2 separate regions of the Homo sapiens genome follow, and region 1 is linked to region 2. Evidence: promoter capture Hi-C in human tissues and cell types (Jung and others, 2019). All regions are on one chromosome and are shown on one strand. The core of a region is centred on a gene start or on the middle of the fragment in contact, and the rest is flanking DNA. Distances in the headings are between cores, read along the strand shown.

Region 1 (2,894 bases), core at 70-2,569, 360 kb after region 2:
TTCAAAACAAAGATGTAAAAATTCAGGGTCACGTTTACCTCTGGTGTAGGTAAATGAATGCATTAGTTGAGGATCACATGGATAATGAACTAATTATGATGTCCTGGCTCTTAAAGCAGGTGGCAAGTTCACGGGTATTTGTTATATTATTAAAATTGGACTACATGAAAGATGCACCCATGCAGTGGTGATGCATGTGCCATGAATCAAGATTCAAACTTTTCCAGTTCTAAGCACCTGAGATGCGATTTAGAAATGTACTAATGCTGCTATTTAAAAATTAGGACGGCTACTATTAGGCCATCTTAATTTGGATGGCTACTATTAAAAACATTAGAAAATAAGTGTTGGCGAGGATGTAGAGAAGATAGAACCCTCATGCACTCTTGGTGGGAATGTAAAATGGTGCATGCAGCCAGTGTGGAAAATAGCGTGTGGTTCCTCAAAAAATTAAACATTGAATTACCAGATGCTCTAGCAATACCATTTCTGGATATATATCTAAAATAATCACCACATACAGTGGCTCATGCCTATAATCTCAGCATTTTGGGATCTGGGAGCCCTCCCTTGGCTAGGGGCTATTTTCTAGGGTGTGAAAGAATGTGATACATGTGCTCTGTCCACTTCCCTGTCCCGTGGCACAGGGACAATCAGAAAGTCCCCTCTGCTGGGAGAAGGTCACGGTCCAAGATGACAGGTAAACCCAAGGTCAGAAGCCCAGGGCTCTTGAGGATGCCAACTGGCTCCACCGTATCGGGTGATTTCTCACATTCCTGGGGCCAAGTCTCCTGTTTTGTAACAGTTCAGTCAAGGATTTTACTGGAGTAGACAAGCATGAAATGAATTTTCCAGAGACGTTTCCGAAGTGGGGGAAAGTTCATGGCTCCAAGGCACCGGTGGATAATGAAACAAAACTGCGAGCTTCTGTTTTTCTTTAGAAAGAGGGCTTCCCAGTTTTTAAAATCTGGATTTCTAAAACTTGAGCTGTATTTTCAACTCTCAGCTCAGCTTTGCCCTCTCACCCTGGTGTTGCAAGTGGATTCTGCGCTGCTTCTGAATTACCCAGGTGGGCTGCCCGGGTTCTGCAAAGCACTGCAATATCGCTCAGAGCAGGTGCTCTTCAGACCTCTGGTTGCGATTACTCTCAGCGCAGGGTCACCACCACCCAGAGGGACACACTTGGAGCAAACTTAGTGAAGGGCGCTTGCCTTAATCAGCTGGTAATCGCCCATTATCAGTCTTTATTAGACTGTTGTTTATTTTAAGGAACTCGTCTTTGATTTATGTAAAACCAAATACTTAGTTTCAAAATGAAAACTAAAAAAAACCTGGCCATCCTTTTTCACTTTTGGCATTACCTACCCCGCACTTGTCTTTGATATACATATGTACAGAAACCAATTTTGGGCTCCCAGACCTAGGAGAAATAAGGAAAATAAAAAACAAAAATCAGTTTTATAAAACATGCTAATAAAAATACTTCGATTCATACTCATCCACCACTCACTGAATCTGCCGGTTCTGAACCTCGCTTCCACTGTTTGACCTTGAGTAACTTATTTAATAAATCAGTGAGACTCAGTTACCTCTAAATTGGAATAATAATACCTATTTGGAGGGGACTATTATAAGAATTAAGTAAAATACCATATACTGCCTCTTGGAATCACTCCTTTATCTCTATTAAAATTATTACCATCAGAATGCAGATCTCCAGTTTACTACACTTTACACCCTAGTTGCAGATGTGGTATCAAGGACTGACTCCAAGCTTATGTCCTTGCAACTAGCCTGACACTGACAAACGTTTCCCTTCCTGAAACACCAGCCCCTTGATACCACCCTTGCTTGAGGTTTCCAGTAGCTTCTTACTGCCTGTCCATACCAGCTGCAGCTCAAAACCCACCATAGCTTCATCCCGTTCCACTTCTATGACTATACTAAATGTTGCCTGTTTCCATCGGAGTGCCCTTTTAAACCCTTTTTCCTGGAGGTAGGAAAGTCTAACTTAGTTTTTCTAACTGCTTTTTGTTTTGTACATGTCTCTATCTTCCCACTCTTTCCTCACCACCCACTTCTTTCTCTCTAGCAAAATCCGTGTGCATCCAATAGGATTTACCTGCAGACCAGCCCCTCCCAGAAAATAGTCCCAACGTCGCCAGTCCACTCTGATCTTAGCCCCTCACTGAGCTCCGGCTGTCCCTGTAATCCTGACCGTGCTTTCACGCTTTTCATGGCTGAAGAGTCCTGCAAAATATGGAAACCCAGAGAAAAATGGTTAACAAACACTGACTATGATTTTCCTGATTGCACAGCTCAAGAGATTGAGTTCAACCACTTAAACTAGCTCAGATGTGGCACCTCTTAATCAAACCCTGTCTTTCTTTAGCCCTTTCTTTTCTCTTTTTCTTCCAATAAAAGAGTACTTAACATTGGATCTTTTATCTTGATCAGCAAAGTTTTATATTTAACTTTTTTCCCCCAAGACGTTTTAGAGGTACTTTATTTTTTTCTATTTTCTAGAGTGTGAAACATGGTATCTTAAAATTTACCTTAAAATTTATCAACATATTTTGTTTTGGATTTTCACAACATACTTATTTTAGATCCTTTGCTTTCACTTTAAAAAATAAAACAATGTCAACACTTCATACTGAAACAAGAGGGCATATTACAGAAAATGTCTTCTATTTCTCCTCTGTAATTGATTTCTAAAATTACTTTGTTACTAAATGTGCTATCTTAAGCTGACTACCAGCTTTTGCAGGCATTTCCTGGAATCAGAATGTTGGAATGCCAAGAGTTGTATGTTTGAAGCAACACACCTGTTAGTTGCAACTTTGTTTTATTCTTTCTTTAGAATTATATACAAAAGATATTATAAAGATACA
Region 2 (2,700 bases), core at 102-2,601:
CATGACCTTATAGTGACCCTTGTTCAGAGCATTCTAGCAACAGAATGATTATCTCTTCTCAGATTCTCATTTCCCATGTTCTTTAAGAAGACGAGAAGCCTGTTTTTCTGCCAATTGCTGCAAGGGGGCTGGACTTCTCTCCCTTCAAATATAACTTTGAAGGTCCTGATACATATTGAGAAGGGCCTGGAGGTGATTAGAGGAATGGAGGAAAATTTGTATTTGGGATTCTTCATCCTCCCAGGGTAACATGCAGAACAAATGCTTAACGAGGTAGAACAATCCCTCTGCTACAGGAGAAAGCGGGAGGAAGCAAGAGGAATACTCATGGAAAGCCTTCATATGTTTGCAGAAACAGCAGCCCTTGGATTTGAGAGGGCAACGTTTATTTGCCCTCTTGATATAAAGGAGGAACCTCTGGAGGACTTGGTGTTTGGGATAAGACCCTGCAAACGGCAGAGAATTTTCCTTCCCCACAAAGGGGTGCTAACTCAGAAAAAAAGCGAGTGGGTGGGGTCCTTAAGGGCTACAGAGTGAGGTCCTATGCAAGCAAGCAAACCATTCAAAAGCCAGGGAGAAACATGGCCCTGGAGCATAACAGGGATGAAAAGCATATGGTAAGTCATAAGGAGCTGACAGAGCTAAGGTTCTGATTAGTGTCTATCCCGGCAGTGAGCCAACAGACAGGGAAAGGGTTGGAGGTCATCCGAGCTGGTAGGGTAACAAGTATAAATATCAAGGGACATCCGTAAGGGAGTCCATCTCTTGGTTGCCAGGCTAACACAGCAAGAGCTGCGGGTGCATGAATAACAAATAGGGAATGTGTGTTTAAGGCAGAGAAGAAAGTTGCAGGGCATGCAAAGTAAGAACAGAGAAAAGACAGACTTACCCCCAAGGCAGTTGGTCCAATGGGTGTGCGAGGTCATTTTGGAATACATACAGAGAAAGGAAAATAGGTGGTGGTGGGTTTTTGGGAAAGAGCTGATTTTAGTTGAAAAAGCAGAGGAAACCCCAGATACTACATGGTTGTAGGTTTTAGCCCTACCGCTCTCATCAGCCTCCTGTCTGGGGGGGCCATTAGTGTCTCAGGTCTACTTAGTGCAGACTCCAAGGTCCTTCCCACCCCTGCAAGCCATCCTTCGGGGTGAGCAGAGAGAGCAGCCAGGGGGAGCAGAGCCACTGTGGTTGAGAGGAATCGTTCCAGGGGTAGGTTAGTAAGCAGGAGAGTGAAAGAGGAGAACGAAACCACGTACGAGGGTTGAACGCCTCCAGCCGAAGAAGGCAAGGCGTAGAGGTGTCTTACCACTAGGGAAGGTATCCGAGTCACTGCACCATTTGAGAGATCCAAGTGCCCTGTTCAGCCCTTGACTTGGGGTTTTATACATCGGCATGGTTCCGGGGTTTCCATTTCTCCTCCTTGGATTTTTTTCCTTGGGGTGGGCTGTCTGCTGTGCAGTGGCCTGTCAGCACTTGGGAGGAGCCACATGTGCATTTGTTTACTGAAGTTGTGCGCATGCTTTCTTGAGACATTTTTCCCTTATCAGTCAGGTGTTCCTAGAGGAAGGTCACATACTGGTTAAACTGTCATTTTGCTTCTTAGTGCGCATGCTTGAGCCCACTTGCCCAGCTTCGGAGATCTTATCAGGAAGTTGCTGATCACCAGCTTCCGGTGTTTCCTGTCTTTTGGGAGACTGTCTTTCCCTGGTACTGGCTGCAACCCATTATTATTATTTTAGAGAAACAGTGTAACAACCGCCTGATCATCACCTGATGGTCGCCTGACATTCCTGAGCTGGGGGCCCTCTCCTGCCCTGCTCATGTCTGCCTGACTACCTACTCTAACAGAACCAGCTTAACCTAATGGCCTCCTGATAGAACTGCTTGCTTTTTTTTTTTTGGAGACAGCCTCGCTCTGTCTCCCAGGCTGGAGTGCAGTGATGCAATCTTGGCTCACTGCAACCTCCACCTCCCGGGTTCAAGTGATTCTTGTGCCTCAGACTCCTGAATAGCTGGAATTAACAGGTGTGCACCACCATGCCCAGCTAATTTTTGTATTTTTAGTAGAGACAAGATTTCACCATGGTGGCCAGGCTGATCTTGAACTCCTGACCTCAAGTGATCTGCTGTCCTTGGCCTCCCAAAGTGCTGGGATTACAGGCATGAACCACCACACCTGGCCCAAACTGCTTTCCATAAACATAAATTTACCTTTCTAATGTAAATCAAATCACACAACATGCTTTTTGTGTTTGACTTCTTTCTGCTAGCATAATGCTTTTGAAATCTATTTGTGTTGTGTATATCAGTAATACATTCTTTTGTATTGCTGAAAGAGTATTCCATTGTATAGATATACCACAATTTGTTTATCCATTTACTCATTGATGGACATGAGAGTGGTTTCCAGCTTTTGGCTGTTAGTATTATTATTGTTTTATTTATTTATTTTTTTGAGATGGGGTCTTGCTCTGTCGCCCAAGCTGGAGTGCAGTGGTATGATCTTGGCTCACTGCAACCTTTGCCTCCTGGGTTCAAGCAATTCTCCTGCCTCAGCCTCCCAAGTAGCTGGGATTATAGGCACCTGCCACCATGCCTGGCTAATTTATTTTATTTTATTATATATTTTTTTGTATTTTTAGTAGAGACGGGGTTTCACCATGTTGGCCAGGCTGGTTTCGAACTCCTGACCTCAAGTAATCC

The links. The method cuts DNA at HindIII sites, captures the fragments that hold promoters and counts their contacts. A contact is called where the count stands out against the background at its distance.
Region 1: a contact is called between a fragment that was not itself captured here and the fragment with the promoter of ERVFRD-1 in region 2, in 1 of the 25 tissues and cell types used here (lymphoblastoid cells).

The regions. Positions count from the first base shown.
Region 1 is chr6:11,472,434-11,475,327 of GRCh38, forward strand. All of the region lies in intron 1 of LOC105374928 (a long non-coding RNA gene), which reads left to right. Among named protein-coding and RNA genes, the nearest start is that of TMEM170B, 64 kb to the right of the region's middle. The HindIII fragment of the contact is 6,820 bases long and covers 1-2,894 here.
Region 2 is chr6:11,110,374-11,113,073 of GRCh38, forward strand. It overlaps ERVFRD-1 (endogenous retrovirus group FRD member 1, envelope), which reads right to left and starts at 1,352. Exons shown (of 2, transcript NM_207582.3): 1 at 1,304-1,352. The region is part of intron 1 of SMIM13 (small integral membrane protein 13); the gene reads left to right. The HindIII fragment of the contact is 12,472 bases long and covers 1-2,700 here.